2 separate regions of the Homo sapiens genome follow, and region 2 is linked to region 1. The links are contacts of gene promoters, found by promoter capture Hi-C in blood cells and fetal thymus (Javierre and others, 2016). All regions are on one chromosome and are shown on one strand. The core of a region is centred on a gene start or on the middle of the fragment in contact, and the rest is flanking DNA. Distances in the headings are between cores, read along the strand shown.

Region 1 (5,219 bases), core at 2,621-5,120:
TAGGCATCTCCCTGCTCTTACCTCCCATGTCACTGTTTTAATCTCTTCCTCTTTACCCCATTAGCGAAGGCAGGATTGCCACACTAGGGTTATGGATATGGACAAACACACAATACCTGACACTAGAAAGACGATACAGCAGTTGGGTATGGTGGCTCATGCCTGTAATCCCAGCACTTTGGGAGGCCAAGACGGGTGGATCACGAGGTCAGGAGTTCAAGACCAGCCTGACCAATATGGCGAAACCCCATCTCTACTAAAAATACAAAAATTAGCCGGGCGTGGTGAAGCACACCTGTAATCCCAGCTACTCAGGAGGCTGAGGCAGGAGAATTGCTTGAACCCAGGAGGCGGAGGTTGCAGTGAGCCAAGATTGCGAAACTGCACTCCAGTCTGGGCGACAGAGCGAGACTCCGTCTCAAAAAAAAAAAAAAAAGAAAGATGATATAGCAGTTTATTAATCATATGTACATAGAACCTGGGAGATGAGGACAACATGTACCACACAGGGTCACATGGGGGTCTAGTCCAGAAAAAAAGTGAATAACCAAAAACTGTGGGATGCAAGCACTTTGAGAACAAAAGGATCAACTGCCCCCTGGTTCCCACAATGGGCTTGTTTGGAAAACTCCATGACCTGGTAGGGAGCTGAAATCTGCTACAAAGTGATAGGCAGAAATTGTGCCTGGTCTCCTTGATTAAAAGGGTTGTCTGTTTGGGAGAAGAGTAGGGAGGGAAACTTGTACTCAGGCCATTTGATGCCACCCTGATTTCACCAGATGTCATACTGGGCCTTAATTTTAGACTTTACACCATAACTTAGCACACAGCGTCCAGAGTATGCTCGACAGATTCAAACGGATCTAATACTACCCTAGATCTCCCAGGGCATCCACTAGTGGTAGCAGCCCCAAATCCTATGAGGGCTCCCTGGCTGGCTCCATTCTTTGCCTCAGATTTAGGCCACACAGAACCACATGTGCATCTCAGATACCCATGGCCCTATTCCACTTCCGTGCTGCACTTGCTAGCCCCTCAGCAGTAACAACCTTCCTCTGTCCACTTAACACTCAAAGACTAGCTCCACTGATCACCTACCCCAGGCCAAGTGACTGTCACAGATGACCACATTGGCACCTGGCCTTATCCTCCAGGTTGAATAAACACCCTAGGCCCCATCAAAGTCATCAAAAAATCCTGGTGATTCCACAGAGTGCTGAATAAGCACAAAGGAAAAAAAGGACAGCCATTTGCCTCAAATACACCTATGCCTCTGCATCCACCTTATATCCACTCTTCCCTTGAAAGTGTATGCCACCTGCCCAACTATCCTCTCCAAACACCCTACCTCCATAGCCACTAACCTCCCTTACCTCTGTTTAGAAAGCCCAAGAATATCACCCACTTATCCAACCAAAAGGCTTGGTCCTTAGCCCCCATTCTGCCCTTCCTGGCCAAATAACCTGTACCACCATGCCTAAAGATTAACCCTTGTAGGCCGGATGCGGTGGCTTACGCCTGTAATCCCAGAACTCTGGGTGGCTGAGGCGGGTGGATCACCTGAGGTTGGGAGTTCAAGACTAGCCTGACCAACATGGAGAAACCCTGTCTCTACTAAATAAATACAAAATTAGCCGGGCGTGGTGGCGCATGCCTGTAATCCCAGCTACTCGGGAGGCTGAGGCAGGAGAATTGCTTGAAGCCGGGAGGCGGAGGTTGTGGTGAGCCAAGCTCGCGCCATTGCACTCTGGCCTGGGCAACAAGAGAGACACTCCATCTCAAAAAAAAAAAAAAAAAATAGAACAACCCTTCTAAATGTAATCCACAGCTCACTCACCTTAGTCCACACAATGACCACCACATTTTGGATGTCTCCATTCTGAAGCACTCCCCAGATTTCCAGACCTGGGTGTTCAGCCACCTACTTAATGCCTACTTAATGTCTCTGAAACATCTCAAACTCTTACATGACCAAATAAAGCTCCTGTTGTCTCCAGTGAATATTACTGTTAATACCAACTTCTCCATCTCAGTTGAAGAACCATGGGGTCATCGCTGAATCCTGTTTCACTCCCTCGCTGTCTACATCAGAAAATTTAGTTGCTCCCTTTAAAAATTTGCATCCAGAATGCAACACATCTCCTAATCAATGACTCTGGTCCATTACCCTGGACTGGCTGTAGCTTCCACTCTGATCTTCTTTCCTCTTCCCTCAACCCCACAGTCTGCTCTCCACGCTAACGGGATGGACCCTGTTAGGACTTTGGTAAGATCACCTCCCTCTTGTAACCCAAATCTCTCATTACCTCCAGAATAGGTACCCAACTTCTCAGGCAGCCACTGCAGTCCTGACTCCTTCCCCCTGCTCTTTGTTCCCAGCTAAAAGGAAACAGATCTATGGTTTCCTCAAAAATCTCAGCTTAGTTTTACTAAGCACTTGCGCCTCCTGATACCAGTGCCAGAGATAACCTTTCACAAGTTTCCACTGGCTGACAAAAATGGGAACACCTCAGTATAACCCCTGTAACCTCTGGCATGGACTTAAGAGCCCTGGGCTTGGAATTTCTCCAGGGCACCAGACCCAGGATTGGGGTAACAGCACTTAAGAATACTAGGAAACCACAATCCCAAGAACATGGGGGTAGAGGCTACTGAGGGACCGAACACTCTCCACTTCCCTATGTGAGTTCCATACGCCCTTCTACAACTGGGAGAACCAGGGAAAGAGGAATGCATCCCTGGTGAGGCTAGATGAGCTCAAGCCTCCCTGTAGCCCTGCCTGGCCCTGAACTCAGGCTGGCTGTTTTACTTTCTGGTCTCAGTGCTGTCACCTCTTGCCAACTGTAGGGCAATGAAAAAAAGATGTAGCCTCCCACTATCTCAATGTCCTCATCGCCCCATCGCTGCTCTTCCTGTGAACAGTCTTTGGAAAAGTTTTTAAACCCTAACATAGGGCGGGCACGGTGGCTCACGCCTGTAATCCCAGCACTTTGGGAGGCCGAGGCAGGAGGATCACTTGTCAGGAGTTCCAGACCAGTCTGGCCAAAATGGTGAAATCCCGTCTCTACTAAAAATACAAAAAATTAGCCGGACGTTGTAATCCCAGCTGCAGGCTTGTAATCCCAGCTGCTGGGGAGGCTGAGGCAGGAGAATCGCTTGAACCCGGGAGTCGGAGGTTGCAGTGACCCGAGATCGCGTCATTGCACTCCAGCCTGGGCGATAAGAGCGAAACTCCGTCTCAAAGAAAAAAAAACTAACATAAATGGCGTCCCTCCTTTGTTCAGAACTCTCCGTGGCTTCTAGCATCCTCACAATGACAGTACAACCCTAGGAGTAACTCCGCCTCATATTCTTCGTTCCCTGCAGAAAACAGCTTTCCGAATTCTCCTGGCTCAGTCGCGCCTCAACCTTTGCACGCGCCGGTTCCTCCGCCTGTCACGCTCTCCCACACCTCGTCACACGCAGTGTCAAAAAAAGGGCCCCACCCACGAACGCCTCAGTGTCCCCGACCCTGGGCAGCGGGGACTCGAGCAGGCGCCCCTCACTGATGGCTTTAGAACGTGGGTGGGGGAAGGTGTGTGAGGACGGGAAGACGCCGCACTCACCTGAGTTGGCGTCCTCAGAGTGGCCGCTGCCATCAGACTCTGCGGGTAGAGCTGGGCCGGGAGCGACGGGCGACATTGGTAGGGACCCGGGGACAGCGGTCCCTATCCCAGGCCTGACGTGGGTCCCCCAGGGCGGCGTCGCCAAGGCTTAGACGCTTTCGTGCAGGAGGGACGACGACTCCCCTCACGCCTTCGTGGCCCCAACTCGGCGCTCTGCTATCTCTGATCCGGTGAACACACCTCAGAGAAGCTAAAATGGCCGCCACGAAGAGGCCCCCCCAAAAGTCCCGTCCTTTCTTTTTGTGACTCTCAAGGAAAGTCGGTTTTCTGAGCTCTTACTGGCTTAGTAGCGTGGCGTTCAACGCAGAGCATTCTAGGTAATGTAGTTTTCATAGATCCCGAGGTGGGTGCCGGGGACCCTTTGCACCAACCTCTTGGAGTAAAAGCGAAGCTCCAGGGCGCTGGGCGATGAGAAATGGCTTATCCAAGTCCTAGGGCAGTGGAGGGACTTCGCCCTTTCTTAAATGGGTCGTAATCAGACAGCATATTAGAGGTGCCATCTGCAACTGATCACCCAAGTGTTTGGGGAATATTATTTCAAACTTCATAAAGTTCAGCAGGCTCCCAGAGGCTAAAATTATTATCAGACGCTCCCTAAGGCTGCCAATCCAAATATGTACATCATTCCATAGAGCCATTCAGACACGAAATATATCCACTAGTAGGGAAGCTAATAAACATTACCATATAAGTTTATTCCTTTTTTTTTTTTTTTAAGACAAAGTTTCCCTCTGTCCCCCAGGCTGGAGTGCAGCGGCGCCATCTGGGATCACTGCAACCTCCGCCTCCCGGGTTAATCGATTCTCGTGCCTCAACCTTCCAAGTAGCTGGGACTATAGGCGCGCGCCACCACGCCAGGCTAATTTTTTGTATTTTCAGTAGAGACAGGGTTTCACTATGGTGGTCCCAAATTCCTGGCCCCAGGTGATCTGCCCGCCTCGGCCTCTCAAAGTGCTGGGATTACAGGCGTAAGCCACCGTACCCAGCCTCTATCATATTACATTTCAAATGTATGCACTCCGAAGCATTGAAGTCAGTCTGTGCACTTTTGGTCAGGGACAGGTGAAAAACTACTTCAGATAGTGGCATGATAGTGCTTCTAGAAGATAGAAGAGAAATGTTAGATCACCTTGAAACAGTAGTACAAAGGTAGAATTCTGTCTGATTCCAACAGAAAACATCTTTTGCCTGCATAGTCAATTATTGTGTCCAATTACTGTGTCCAGTCAATAACTGTGTCCAATTCACTGAGCAACGCTTTTATCCATTTCATAATTCTTACTTGATATCTGAGATATATTCCTTCTAGAAGTCTAACATCAATCTCAAAAAACAATGAAAGAAATGCTACTTTGATAAGAGACAAAGGGGAGAGGTGGGACTTCTTAATCAGAAAGCCGGTGAAATGCACTTGAAGGAAGTGAGAAATGAGCCATGTGGGTATTTTTAGAATAAATTCCAGGCAGAAGAAGCAGGTTACTAGAGTGCCTGGATGGATGGAGACTTCACAGGGCATTTCAGCATTGGAGGGCCTAGGGCTCCAACCCAGCAGGC
Region 2 (4,687 bases), core at 945-3,444, 420 kb after region 1:
TGGTGCTGTGTCAGAGCTGAGCCATCACTGAAAGCTTTCCCACATTTACTGCATTCATAGGGCTTCTCTCCTGTGTGGATTCTTTGATGCACAATCAGGTTGTAGTTCTTGGAGAAGGACTTTCCACACTCATTACAAGTATAAGGCTTCTCTCCGGTGTGAGTTCGGTGATGCAAAACAAGAGAAGAGTTCCGTTTGAAGCATTTGCCACATTCAGTACATCTATATTGTTTCTCTCCAGGGAGATTTCTCTGGTTTTCATTAAGCGATGAGCTCAGAGTAAAGATGTTCTCAAAATTCTTACCTTCATACGATTTCTTGCCTCTTTTCATTATTTTCTGATGACCAAGAGAGGTAAAATGATTAAAAGACTTAACACTTTCAGGGTATTTGTAGGGCTTCTCTCTCACTGGATTTCTTCCATGAATAACTTCCATGGAATGGTTGAAGCCTTTTCCACAGGCATCACTGTCACCAGTTCTCTTATCTGCATAACTTTTAGGATAGCTGGGTAAGGCGGGGTCACAATCCAGACCACTAACATTTGAGTCAGGTGCATGGAAACCATTTGTTGCCAGAACTCTCTGAGACGGTGGAAGGTCTGAGCTTGCAATCAAATGCTCCCCAAAACCAGGATATTCACAAATTGCTTCCTGAGTCCCTGGTTTCTCCAGAGTTAAAGCTGATTGCCTCAAGTGTCCCTCCTGGTTCTCACAGTCCCAACCATCACCTAAACTGGACAAGCAGGGAACTTCCCTTGTGAATCTTTCCACTTCTACATCACAGGGTACTTCTCTCTCAGGAAAATTCCGAGTCGTCATTTTCAATCTCATATCCCAAACTGCAAAAAGAAGAAAAATGCAGACTTAGGTATATGAAGCTTTATCTGTAAGAGAAACAGACAATGATGATGGGCTAGGTGTAAAGATGTGTATTTTTTTACTTGTTTTCTCTTTTAAATTCAAATTTATACAAGGAAGAGGTAAAATCGTAGCCAAGGAATGGAACCAAGAACAGATTCAAAAAGAGCCATGTAGCATTTTCATCTTCCTAGAGAGCAGGCAGGAGGAATGGACCTCGGGATAAATCATCACCAAAAGGATTAGTTTGAGATGTGAGAGACCAGAGGCCAAGCATCCCTGCTCCCCCTAGAATTCCATCCCAGCCACTGCATTCTTGTCCCTGTCACACACTGCCCATCAGTACACATTTCCAAAGCTCTGACTTCACAATGAGCTTACAACAGCACTGAAGGAACAGTTCTCACCCCAGCTCTGTCATCAAAGTTCTGCATTCATGGATAGGACAAAGCACAGGCTTGGTGACCTAAAAGTTCTGGGTCTAAGTCTTAGAACTGTCAATGACCTGGCGGGGCACAGTGGTTCACTCCTGTAATCCCAGCACTTTGGGAAGTGGAGGCAGGTGGATCATTTGAAGTCAGGAGTTCAAGACCAGCCTGACCAACATGGTGAAACACCGTCTCTACTAAAAATACAAAAAAAATCAGCCAGGCGTGGTGGCACATGCCTGTAGTCCCAGCTACTCTGGAGGCTGAGGCAGGAGAATCACTTCAACCTGGTAGGCAGAGGTTGCAGTGAGCTGAGATCACACCACTGCACTCCAGCCTACGCGGCAGAGTGAGACTCCATCTCAAAAAACAAAACAAAACAAAAACTGTCAAAGACTGCCCTGCATGGTTGTTATAAAAACTGGATCATGTCGGCCAGGCGCGGTGGTCACGCCTGTAATCCCAGCACTTTGGGAGGCCGAGGTGGGCAGATCACAAGGTCAGGAGATTGAGACCATCCTGGCTAACGTGGTGAAACCCCGTCTCTACTAAAAAAATACAAACAATTAGCCAGGCGTGGTGGCGGGCGCCTGTAGTCCCAGCTACTCGGGAGGCTGAGGCAGGAGAATGGCGCGAACCCGGGAGGCGGAGCTTGCAGTGAGCCAAGATCGTGCCACTGCACTCCAGCCTGGGCCACAGAGCAAGACTCCGTCTCAAAAAAAAAAAAAAAAAAAAACTGGATCATGTACAAAGCAGTCTCCAAGGCTAGGGGATGAAGGGCATTCTGTAAATGGTTGCATGTGTCTTCATGCATATCAATCTTCCTGTCACCATCCTTGTCCATTCAGACTTCACAATATTAAGACAACTGGTTGTCCATTCATTCGTTCATTCATTTGGTGGGATCGGGTCTCGCTCTGTCATTCAGGCTGAAGTGCAGTGGTGTGATCTTGGTTCACTGAAGCCTCAATCTCAAAAACTTCAAGCAATTATCCCACCTCAGCCTCCCAAAATGCTGCAAATACAGGGATGAGCCATTGTGCCCAGCCTTCTTTCTATTTTTTAAGGTAAAATGAAAATAGACCCTTGCCTCAGAATACATACATACATATATGTCTACATTCTAGGCAATTTAAATATATATACATGTATATGTGTATATGTGTGTGTGTGTGTGTGTGTGCGCGTGTATTTACATTTCAGAAGGATACAGGCTGCAACATAAAGTCAAAGTTTAAATAATGTAGTATGCCTTCATAAGTGTGGCAGACTTTGATCAACAAAACTTAACCAAAAAACCATATGGCCAAGCATTGGGGGTCATGCCTGTAATCCCAGCACTCTGGGAGGCTGAAGTGGGAGTTATCACTTGAGCCCACACAGAAGGCTGAGGCTGCAGTGAGCTGTAATTGTGCCACTGCATTCCAGATTGGGCAAAAGAGACCATGTCTTAAAAACAAAAAACAAAAACCAAAAAATAAAAAACAGACAAGGATTAAGAAGTCTGATATCAGCATTCAAATTTTCCATCCAATAAAAGACACAATAAGAGACAAAATGCAAGTGGCAGATAGGGAGAAAATAGGACTTAAAAGCACAAAGAATTATTGCCCAAGAGCTATAGAGGATTCTTACAGAGAGAAAATAAGATTTAAAAGCACAAAGAATTACTGCCCAAGAACTACAGAGGATTCTTACAGAACAGCACATAAAAAGAAAAAAAATGGGCAAAGTAATCAAAGAGCACTTCGTGAAGGGAAAATAGAAATGTCCTGAAAACATTGGCTGGGAGCAGTGGGTCACGCCTGTAATCCCAGCACTTTGGGAGGCTGAGGCAGGTGGACCACAAGGTCAGGAGATCGAGACCATCCTGGCTGACACGGTGAAACCCCGTCTCTATTAAAAATACAAAAAATTAGCCAGGCGTGGTGGCGGGCGCCTGTAGTCCCAGCTACTTGGGAGGCTGAGGCAGGAGAATGGCATGAACCCGGGAGGCAGAGCTTGCAGTGAGCCGCGATAGCGCCACTGCACTCCAGCCTGGGCAACAGGGCGAGACTCTGCCTCAAAAAAAAAAAAAAAAGAAAGAAAAAAAAGAAATGTCCTGAAAACATCAATATTTATTTTCTCATTCTATCATTCAGGCAATTCCAAACTGCGACTTTAAGAACACAAAATATACACATTTCACGTGAGTAAAAATAAAATGAAGTACAATAATATAAAGCTTTGGTAGGTCACAAGGGAAGAGGGCTTGGAAAGTGGTCAGCGTGCTTGGCAGGGTACCTTAGTGGCAGCTGTGAAAACATAAACTGGGGGCAGGCGCGGTGGCTCACGCCTATAATTCCAGCAGTTTGGGAGGCTGAGGTGGGTGGATCACCTGAGCTCAGGAGTTCGAGACCAGCCTGACTAACATGGTGAAACCCCACCTCCACTAAAAATACAAAAATTAAGCCAGGCACAGTGGCTCACGCCTGTAATCCCAGCACTTTGGGAGGCTGAGGCAGGTGGATCACCTAAGGTCAGGAGTTCAAGACCAGCCTGGGCAACTATGTCTCTACTAAAAATACAAAAATTAGCTGGACGCGGTGGCGCATGCATGTAATCCCAGCTACTCGGGAGGCTGAGGTAGGAGAATCGCTTGAGCCTAGGAGGCAGAGGTTGCAGTGAGACAAGATTATACCATTGCACTCCAGCCTGGGGGACAGAGCGAGACTCCGTCTGAAAAAAAAAAAAAAAAAAGAAAACATAAATTAGGTATATTCTACCACCCAGCAGTTCCACTGGTAGGTATCTCAGAGTCAGAAAGCTGGATAAACGAACATCAATCCATACCTACGTAGATAGATGGTCTTTTTCTTTTTTCTTTTTTTTTGAGACAGAGTCTTGCACTGTCACCCAGGCTGGAGTGCAGTGGTGCGATCTCAGCTCACAGCAAGCTCCGCCTCCCAGGTTCACGCCATTCTCCTGCCTCAGCCTCCCCAGTAGCTGGGACTACAGGTGTCTGCCACCACGCCCAGCTAATTTTTTGTACTTTTAGTAGAGACAGGGTTTCACTATGTTAGCCAGGATGGTCTCGAGCTCCTGACCTCGTGATCCGCCCGCCTCAGCCTCCCAGAGTGCTGGGATTACAGGCGTGAGCCACCGCGCCTGGCCAATAGATGGTCTTAAAGGCCAGCAGAGAGAAGAGAAACCACCAGTGAATGACGAAAATTATTACAATAGATCACTTAATAGAAAAACTGGAAACCCAAAGGTAACGGAAGGCTACTTTCAAAGCACTGAAGGAAAAAATCTATCAGTCACACTATTGTTCAAGAGCAAAGGTGAGATAAAGACTGTTTCAGAGGCTGGATGTGGTGGCTCATACCTGTACTCTCAACACTTTGGTAGGCCAAGGTG

The links. Contacts are between HindIII fragments. The CHiCAGO score rates a contact against its expected background, and 5 or more counts as called.
Region 2: a contact is called between a fragment that was not itself captured here and the fragment with the promoter of ZNF154 in region 1, in 2 of 17 cell types (erythroblasts and non-activated CD4 T cells). The highest score is 6.3, in erythroblasts.

What each region holds. Positions count from the first base shown.
Region 1 is chr19:57,705,334-57,710,552 of GRCh38, forward strand. ZNF154 (zinc finger protein 154) reads right to left here and starts at 3,871. Exons shown (of 3, transcript NM_001085384.3): 1 at 3,606-3,871. The coding sequence starts at 3,638. RefSeq lists enhancers at 3,459-4,098, 3,842-3,971, 3,992-4,051. The HindIII fragment of the contact is 9,236 bases long and covers 1-5,219 here.
Region 2 is chr19:58,128,671-58,133,357 of GRCh38, forward strand. ZNF329 (zinc finger protein 329) reads right to left here. Exons shown (of 4, transcript NM_024620.4): 4 at 1-841. The coding sequence starts at 833. Among named protein-coding and RNA genes, the nearest start is that of ZNF329, 20 kb to the right of the region's middle. The HindIII fragment of the contact is 2,632 bases long and covers 879-3,510 here.